Linked DNA regions of Homo sapiens: region 1 is linked to region 2. Evidence: promoter capture Hi-C in 16 types of primary human blood cells and fetal thymus (Javierre and others, 2016). All regions are on one chromosome and are shown on one strand. The core of a region is centred on a gene start or on the middle of the fragment in contact, and the rest is flanking DNA. Distances in the headings are between cores, read along the strand shown. Region 1 overlaps BRAT1 (BRCA1 associated ATM activator 1). Region 2 holds the start of MAFK (MAF bZIP transcription factor K).

Evidence for each region. Contacts are between HindIII fragments. The CHiCAGO score rates a contact against its expected background, and 5 or more counts as called.
Region 1: a contact is called between a fragment that was not itself captured here and the fragment with the promoter of MAFK in region 2, in 1 of 17 cell types (naive CD4 T cells). The highest score is 5.7, in naive CD4 T cells.

The regions. Positions count from the first base shown.
Region 1 is chr7:2,547,523-2,552,347 of GRCh38, forward strand. All of the region lies in intron 2 of BRAT1 (BRCA1 associated ATM activator 1), which reads right to left. It also overlaps the pseudogene LOC124901849. Among named protein-coding and RNA genes, the nearest start is that of BRAT1, 5.6 kb to the right of the region's middle. The HindIII fragment of the contact is 1,051 bases long and covers 2,016-3,066 here.
Region 2 is chr7:1,527,351-1,532,280 of GRCh38, forward strand. It overlaps MAFK (MAF bZIP transcription factor K), which reads left to right and starts at 3,352. Exons shown (of 3, transcript NM_002360.4): 1 at 3,352-3,548. RefSeq lists silencers at 3,182-3,451, 3,942-4,071. The HindIII fragment of the contact is 17,285 bases long and covers 1-4,930 here.

The DNA of each region.
Region 1 (4,825 bases), core at 1,291-3,790, 1.0 Mb after region 2:
AGGTGTCCCCCTGGATGACCGCTCTTCTCCTAGCAATTCCCAGACCCTTTTCTTGCAGGGTGTTAGATTTAGGGATCCAACTGGGAAAAAAATATCTGCAACAAATACGGCAAATGACTCATAATTTTAATTCAGTAAGGGCTAGAAAGCCAACACCTTAACAACAGGTGAAAGGCGGAACACTGTCACCTTTCACAACAGGTGAATGGCCAAAAATGCTGAAAAAATGTTCTGTCTCACTGATAGTGAAAAAGAAATGCAAATTAAAGTGAAAGACCAGGCTGGGCGTGGTGGCTCACGCCTGTAATCCCAACACGTTAGGAGGCCAAGGCGGGTGGTCACTTGAGCTCAGGAGTTCGAGACCAGCCTGGCCAACATGGCGAAGTCCCATCTCTACTAAAAATACAAAAAATTAGCCAGGTGTGGTGGCTCATGCCTGTAGTCCCAGCTAATTGGAAGGCTGAGGCAGGAGAATCGCTTGAACCTGGGAGGCAGAGGCTGCAGTGAGCCAAGACCACGTCATTGCACACGGCACACTCCAGCCCTGGGCGACAGAGCGAGACTCCATTCCAAAAAAAAAAAAAAAAAAAAGTGGAAGAGCATTTTCACCTTCCAAATGGGTACTTTTCCTTAGACAGTGCTCCATGCAAGCAGGTACAATGGAACAAACATTCCTCTCCAGAACTGGCATCCTGTATTTCTATAACCAGCTATGCTATCGCTCAAAAGCACCAGTGGGGGAAAAAGACATTTTGAGGCAAAGGTTGGGAGAGTTTCCCAGTGAGAAGCCCCTGTGGAAAGAATGTGGTTCAGTAAGGAGAGTGAGGAGCATGCAGAGGAGGAGAACCAGGCCAGGACCCAAAAAGCACTATGTCCACCTGAATCAGCACTGCAGGCTGGGTGAGGTGCTCATACCTGTAGTCCCAGCACTTTGGGAGGCCAAGGCAGGAGAACAACATAGCAAGACCCTGTCTCTACAAAAAATAAAAAAAAATTAGCCCGGCATGGTGGCACACATCTGCAGTCCCAGCTACTCAGGAGGCTGAGACGGGAGGATTGCTTGAGCCCAGGAGTTCGAGGCTGCAGCAAGCTATCACTGCACCACTGTACTCCAGCCTGGGCGACAGAGGGAGACCCTGTCTCTCTAAAAAAAAAAAAGGCGGGGCGTGGTGGCTCACGCCTGTAATCCCAGCACTTTTGAAGGCCAAGGCAGGCAGATCACGAGGTCAGGAGATTGAGACCATCCTGGCAAACATGGTGAATGAAACCCTGTCTCTACTAAAATATAAAAAATTAGCCAGGCATGGTGGCGGGCGCCTGTGGTCCCAGCTATTTGGGAGGCTGAGGCAGGAGAACTGCTTGAACTCGGGAGGTGGAGGTTGCGGTGAGCCGAGATCGCACCACTGCACTCCAGCCTGGTGACAGGGCAAGACTCTGTCTCAAAAACAAACAAACAAACAAACAAAAAACAATGCCACTGAGTTCAAAATCTAAAAAATCATTGTTGAAGGGTTTTGAAACAAAACAGAATTAAAATACTAACGACAATAATAGAAGGTTGTGATGGCCTGAAGTTCAAGTGCTCTGAGGTCCTTCGGTTGCCTGGATAGAGAATGGAAAGTCTAATTAACTTCAGACTTTTTAAAAAATCCGGTTCTCATGTTAAAAATATAAGGGTAGCCACTGAAGAACACAAATAAGCCTGTGGTCCCAGCATCTTGAGAGGCCGAGGTGGGCAGATTGCCTGAGCCCAGGAGTTTTAAGACCAGCTTGGGCAACACAGGAAGATCCCCTCTCTATAAAAATTCGCTGGGCATGGTGGCGCGCATCTATAGTCCCAGCTACACTGGAAGCTGAGATGGGAAGATCACCTGAGCCCAGGAGGTCAAGGCTGCAGTGAGCCGTGATTACACCACTGTCCTGGACAACAGCACAAGAACTTGTCTAAAAAGAAGAACATAAATAGAATGTATAACTTCAAAACCAGAAGAGGAAAGATTTAAAAGAAAAAAAAAAGCTTTATCAATCTGATGGAGGGCAGAAAAGGAGGATAAAGGCACAAAGGTAAGGCACAGGAAATTAAAAAATACAAAAGAATTCAAATCTAACAGTCGCCTCAACAAATTAAAGAGATCAAACTTATCTGTTAAAAGAAAGAGTTGCTGAGATTAAATTAAACACTAAAAACAAGCAATGTGGTGTTTCTAAAAGCAATAAAATGCAACGACAGGAAAGGCTGGGAGCAGGAGAGAAAAGACACAGTAGGCAAATTCTAACTTTAAAGAAGCTGATGTAGCAACAGAAATAGCAAACAAAATGGGCTGTAAAGCAAAAAGCAGTATTCATGCAGAAGTAAGTTAACTGATCACGGAGATAAATTCCAGAAAGACACAACATTCCTACATCTATGTATACCTAACCTCACTTCAAAACGTGTAAAGCAGCCTGGGCAACGTGGTGAAACCCCGTCTCCGCAAAAAAATACAAAAAATTAGCTGGGTGTGGTGGTGTGTCCCTGTAGTCCCAGCCATCCAGGAGGCTGGGGTGGGAGGATCACTTGAGCCCAGGAAGTTGAGGCTACAGTGAGCCGTGATCACACCACTGCACTCTAGCCTGAGTGACAGAGTGAGACCCTGTCTCCAAAAAAAAAAGAAAAAAAAAATGCCAGGCACAGTGCCTCACACCTGTAATTGCAGCGATTTGAGAGGCCAAGGCGGGCAGACTGCTTGAGCCCAGGAGTTTGAGACCAGCCTGGGCTACATAGTGAAACCCCGTCACTACAAAAAATACAAAAACTTAGCCGGGCGTGGTGGCGGGCTCCTGTGGTCCCAGCTATTAGGGAGGCTGAGGTGAGAGAATCATCTGAGCCCAAGAAGTCGAGGCTGCAGTGAACCGAGATCATGCCACTGCACTCCAGCCTGGGCAATAGAGCAAGACTCCATCTCAAAAAAAAAAAAACAAAAAAAAAAAAAGAAAGAAAAGAAAAAGAAAAAAATAATATGTAAAGCGAAAAAAAAAAAAAGGATGCATCTCAAAGAAAAATCATGAATCCATGATCTTGGTGTAAGCTTTTTACACACCTCTCAGAAACAAGCAAACAAATTAGCAAGAACATAGCAGGTCTGAACTAATGAACGAGTGTGGAAACTACACTCTTTCCATCAAGTACAATGCAGGAGAAATGACAGAGGCTGGGAGGGAGGAGGAAACAGGGACTCACTGTGAACCCAGACTCGGTTTCTTTAGGGGGAACAAAATTAGATTGTGCTGATGATTTCAGAGCCCTGTAAATTTACTAAGAACTGTTGAATTGGTACCATTTATTTATTTATTTTGTCCATTTCTCATGTCAGACGGGTCACGTACCGACATCATACCAGGGTTCCATGGTGCCACATCTCACACATGCGCCTGAACACTCAATTATCATGCTTAGGTTGGGTGCAGTGGCTCTCCACTGTAACCCCAGCACTTTGGGAGGCCAAGGTGGAGGGATCACCTGAGGTCAGGAGTTCGAGACCAGCCTGGCCAACATGATGAAATCCCACCTCTACTAAAAATACAAAAATTGGCCGGGCATGGTGGCATGCACCTTTAATCGCAGGTACTCAGGAGGCTGAGGCAGGAGAATCGTTTGAAACCCAGGAGGCGGAGGTTGCAGTGAGCCAAGATTGTGCCATTGCACCCCAGCCTGGGCAACAGAGCAAGACTTGGTCTCAAAAAAAAAAAAATCTATATCTATATATATATCTATATATAGATATATATATATCTCATGCTTACAAACTGTAAAAGGATCTGGTACACCTTAAATGGGAGAATGGCATGGTATGCAAATTATATCTCAATAAAGCTACTGAAAAATACTTCTTAAAATTTAAATACAGGCCAGGCATGGTGGCTCGCTCCTGTAATCCCAGCACTTTGGGAAGCCCAGGCGGGAAGACTGCTTGAGCCCAGGAGTTCCAAGCTGGCCTGGACAAGATGGTGAGACCTCATCTCTATGGGAAAAAAAAAAATAGCTGGGCCTGGTACACACCTTGATCCCAGGAACTCAAGAGAATGAGGCAGGCGGACTGCCCAGGAGGTCAAGGCTGCAGTGAGCCGTGTTCACGCCATTGCACTCCATCCTGGGTGACGCGCAAAAACCCTGGCTCAAAAAAAAAAAAAAAGAAAAAGAAAAACTGACTACTACAAACTAGGCCACAGTTGAAGACCTTCAAATACCAAAACATCAAAATCATATAGTGAAATCTCTAGAACATTGAGAAAACTCGCCTGGGTCCTATGTCTCAATAAAAGTCTCAACAGCTATAAAGATTCAAAACATATGTTATGTTTTCTAACCTCCACAAAGTAAATTAAAAATCAATAATAAAAAGACTGGAAAAATCCATATTTTGAAACTAAAGGATACTCTTTTAAGTAACTTGTGGGTGAAAAAAAAATTATAATGAAAAGCATAAAATACTCAGAACTAAATTAAAACCAAAGTACTGCAATGTAAAACGTGTAAGATGTAGCTAAAGTCATACTTTTAGAGAAATGCATAGTCTTAAATATATATATATATATATATATATATTTTTTTTTTTTTTTTTTTTTTTTTTTTGAGACAAGAGTCTCACTCCATTGCCCTGGCTGGAGTGCAATGGCGTTATCTCGGCTCACTGCAACCTCTGCCTCCCAGGTTCAAGTGATTCTCCTGCTTCAGCCTCCCGAGTAGCTGGGATTACAGGCATGGACCACCATGTCAGGCTAATTCTTGTATTTTTAGTAGAGACGGGGTTTCACCATGTTAGCCAGGCTGGTCTCCAACTCCTGA
Region 2 (4,930 bases), core at 2,102-4,601:
GCCACTGCCCGCCAGCTTGGGTGGCAGAATGAGATCCTGTTTCAAAACACACACACACACACACACACACACACACACACACACACACACACACACACTTTTTCTTTTTTTGGAGACAGAGTTTTGCTCTTGTTTCCCAGGCTGGAGTACAATGGTGCAATCTCGGCTCACTGAAGCCTCCGCCTCCTGGGTTCAAGTGGTTCTCCTGCCTCAGGCTCCCGAGTAGCTGGGACTACAGGCGTGAGTCACCACATCTGGCTAATTTTGTATTTTTAGTAGACATGGGGTTTCTCCATGTTGGTCAGGATGCTCTTGAACTCCCGACCTCAGGTGATCTGCCCGTCTCAGCCTCCCAAAGTGCTGGGATTATAGGCATGCGCCACCACACTCAGCTAATTTTGTATTTTTAGTAGAGACAGGGTTTCTCCATGTTGGTCAGGCTGGTCTTGAACTCCTGACCTCAGGTGATCCACCCACCTTAGCTTCCCAAAGTGCTGGGATTACAGGCGTGAGCCAGCTTGCCCAGCCAGAACTTAACATTTTTTTACAAAAGGAACTACTAAATGATGAAAAATTTCTGGAGATGGATGATGGCAATGTTTGTACCACAACGTGAATGTACTTAACGCCACCGAACCGTACACTTAGAATGGTTAACTTGGCCTAGTGTGATGGCCACCATGCCCAGCCTATTCACCTAATCACACCTGTGATCTTAGCACTTTGGGAGGCTGAGGTAGGAGGATTGCTTGAGGCCAGGAGTTCAAGACCAACCTGACCAACGTAGCAAGACCCTATCTCTGAAAAAATATTTTTTTAACTTAAAAAAAATGGTTAAAATGGTAAATTCTATGTGATGTTTACTTTACCACAATAAAAAGTAAACTTTGGCTAGGCACAGTGGCTCATGCGTGTAATCCCAACACGTTGAGAGGACGAGGCGGGAGGATCACTTGAGCCCAGGAGTTCAAGACCAGCCTAGGCAACAGAGCAAGATCCTGTCTCTACAAAAAAAAACAAAGAAAATTAGCCAAGCGTGGTAGCACCAGCCCTTGGTCCCAGCTACTTAGGAGGCTGAGGTGGGAGGATCACTTGAACCTGGGAGGTGGAGGCTACAGGGAACTGTGATTGCACCAGTGAACTCCAGTTTGGGCGACAGTGAGATGTTGTCTCATAAAACAAACATAAATAAATAATTCAAAATTTTAAAAATTAGGCTGGATGCAGTGGCTCACGCCTGTAATCCCAGCACTTTGGGAGGCCAGGGCGGGTGGATCACCTGAGGTCAGGGGTTCGAGACCAGCCTGGCCAACATGGTGAAACCGTCTCTACGAAAAATACAAAAATCAGCCGGTGTGGTGGCGCACGCCTGTAATCCCAGCACTTTGGGAGGCCGAGGCAGGCAGATCACAAGGTCAAGAGATTGAGACCATCCTGGCTAACATGGTGAAACCCGTCTCTACTAAAAATACAAAAAAAAAAAAAATTAGCCGGGCGTGGTGGCAGGCATCTGTAGTCCCAGCTACTCAGGAGGCTGAGGCAGAAGAATTGTTTAAATCTGGGAGGCGGAGCTTGCAGTGATCCGAGATCGTGCTACTGCACTCCAGCCTGGCAACAGAGTGAGACTCCATCTCAAAACAGCAACAAGAACAAAAACAAAATTTAACCAGACGTGGTGGTGGGCACCTGTGATCCCAGCTACTCGAGGGGGCTGAGGCAGGAGAATCACTTGAACCTGGGAGGCGGAGGCTGCAGTGAGCCGAGATGGTGCCACTGCACTCCAGCCTGGACGACAGAGTGAGACTCCATCTCAGAAATAAATAAATACAAATTAAAAAATTAAAGAGATAATAAAAGTGTGTGATTAGTAACAAAAGCCTGCTATGGAAAGAATGCATTTGGGTTAGAGGAGCGACACCATGAGTAACGTAAAGAGTCCCGCGGAGATGGCCACAGCTTCTCTGGAGGCTCCCAGCGCATCCCAGGACCCCGAGTGCAGAGTGTGGGCCAGGACAAGGGAAGCACCTTTCCCATCCCCGGGGGATGTCTTTCTGCAAACATCCTGGGGACGTGGGACATTGTCGCTACTGCTGCTGTTGAGTTATTTCTTGGCACCTGTTTCTGCGGCCAGGTTGCAGGCATCACTGTGGCTAGCTGCCCCAGACGGCCGTGTGGGCCTTAGCAAGGAGGGGCCTCCCAGGTGGCCAGTGCAGAACCCGCAAGTGGGGGGGAGAGATGGCCCGGGAGGCTGCCCCCGCGCTCCACAGCAAGAGGCCACTGGGCTGCTGCCTAAATCCCCAGCCACATGGTGGTAAGGACGACACCCAGAAGATGCACAGACCTCCCTGCACTGGCTCCTGAGTCCCACCTGAGCCGAGAAAACAGGCTCCCGGGTCCCACCTGAGCTGAGAAAACAGGCTTCCCAGAACCCCGGGCAGATGCCATGGGTGTCCTGGGGGGCCCTCGGTTGCCCAGGCCTGAAACTCCTCTTCCTGCAGCGCTCAGAGGGGGGCGGGACTTGGGGACCCAGAAGCGTGGCAAGGGGCTCCAGACGGATCCCCTCTCCAGCCTGTCCTCCACCTGTGACAGGAAGCAGAGGCAGCTCCCTCAGGGGCCCGCCCCCACCTGAGGATCCCTCACAGGACTCCTTGGGCCAGTGGTGCCCTAACCCCATCCTGGGCCTGCTGTGTCCCCTGGCAACCACCAGCTGGGGCTTTAGAAGGGGGCTGGCCCCACCCACAGAGGCTGTGATCACTAGCCGCTTATCCCCATTTTTACATTGCTGGTTTGCTTGTTTTGTTTTTTTGAGACAGGGTCTCACCTTGTCACCCAGGCTAGAGTGCAGTGATGAAATCATGGCAGCCTCCACCTTCCAGGTTCAAGCCATCCTCCTGCCTCAGCCTCCTGAATATCTGGGGCCGCAGGCACATACCACCACGCCCGACTAATTTTTGTAATTTTTTTGTAGAGATGGGGGTCTCACTGTGTTGTCCAGGCTGGTCTGGAACTCCTGGGCTCAAGCGATCCTCCTGCTTTGGCCTCCCAAAGTGCTGGGATTACAGGCATGAGCCACCGTTCCCAGCTGGCCTTAATGTTTTTTATGTTTATAGAGACAGAGAATGGGGGAAGGGAGGTTTCGCTATGTTGCCCAGGCTGGTCTTGAACTCCCGGCCTCCAGAGATCTTCCCGCAGGGCCTCCCAAAGCGCGGGGATTGCAGGTGCGCGCGGGGCCAGCGGCCCCCCGGGCGGGAGAGGAGGGCGTGGCCGGGGGGCGTGGCCGCGGGGCGGGGAGGGGGCGTGGCCCGGGGGGCAGGGCGGTGTGACGCGCGCGCCGCGGATCCCGGAAGCGGTGTCAGATGCTGGGGAGCCGGGCGGGCGGGTGCGGTGGCGGCGGGCGGCGCGGGGGCACTTGTTGTTCTTCGCGAAGTCGGAGCCCGAGCGCCAGGCGGCGGCGGCGGCCGAGGGGAGCGCGACAGTGAGCGCCGGCGCGAGGACAGCGCGTGCCCGCGAGGAGCCGCCGCGCGCCCGCGCCCTCCGCGCGACGCCAGGTGAGGGGCGGTGGGGCAGCGGGGCCCGGGCCGCGGCGGGGACGGGGACCGGGGCGCGGGGCCGGGGCTACCTGGCCGCTGAGTCACGGCCGCCTGGGGGCGCGGGCCGAGGGTGGCGGGGTTGGGTGCGCGGGGCCCGAGACCCTCATGCGGCCCGCGGCGCGGCCCGGGCACCTGCCCAGGTGGGCCCCGCCCCGCAGGCCCGGGGGCTTCCCCGGGACGCGAGGCTCTCTCCCCTGCACGTGCCGCCCGGGCCATGCTTGCCGCGCCGGGGGCCCCAGGGCGCGGACCCCAGACCTGGGAGGACGAGGATCCACGCGGGTCGGCGGCGCGCATCGGGCCCGCGCCTTCACACCTGCGGGGGGCGGGGCGGGGCGGGCGCCACGTGCGGGCGGTGCGGGGAGGGCGCGGGCGCGTGGATTCTCCGCGGCTTCCGCCCCAGCGTGGCTTCCGCGTGCGGCCCCGGACTGCCCCCCGCGCTTCCTCCCGGTGACGGGCGGCGCTCTGGCCCAGTGGCTGGGGTCACGCGTGCCCGGGAACGGGGTGGGGGTAACCGGGTCTCCCCACAGGCGGGATCCTGGGACTGGTGTCGCTCTCAGCCGCCCACCTGCCAGGGTTGCTGGAAGGAAGGCCGTGGGGAGGCGGGAGGGGGGCAGGTGACAGTGGCCCCAAGGCTCGTCCCTTTGCTCACGTGTGGGGCAGGGGCTCCGGCCTCTTCCCGCTCCCACTGCGTGAGTTCTTCTGTGCCTCTGTCAAGTTCAGGAAACTGTGTATGTGCCCGTGACTGTGTGTGTCTGCGTCTGCACAGCCTCTAGATCCTGGGGGGTGGGACCAGGCGCCACCGAGAAACCCAGAAAGCCAGGACCCCGCCTGGCCTTGGCCCTTGACCTGGGTCCGCCTGGGACACAGCAGTGGCCCTGCACTGCATTCTCGCGCTCACACCGTGTGTGTCCGTGTTCGCGGGGCCTCCCGTGTCCCTCTCCTGGTGTCCTGCGTCCCTGAGCATGCTGTTTTCTTGCTTCTTAAGTAGCTCTTGTAGCTGAGGCAGAAATTAGATCCACTCACCATTCATTCACCAGGTGACCCACAGGCAGCCAGCCAATCTCTGGCCAGGTGCCTGGCCTTGGGAAGATCCTGAGACTCAAAACGCCCCCCACCGCCCCCCATCGTGGTCTAGGGGATATCTGTGTGGTTCGGCTCTGGCAGCGCCCTTCCCACCCCTCTGATTCTCCAGGGTGGGCTGCCAGGTCTCTTTACTGGCACTGAGGTTTCACCGTCACGGTGTGTTGTTGTAAGGGGTTCTCCAACACAGAGTGGGGTGCCCTATGCAGCTTCTCCAAACCCAATGTCTTCAGGGACATGGAGCATTAAAAGAGCCGTGG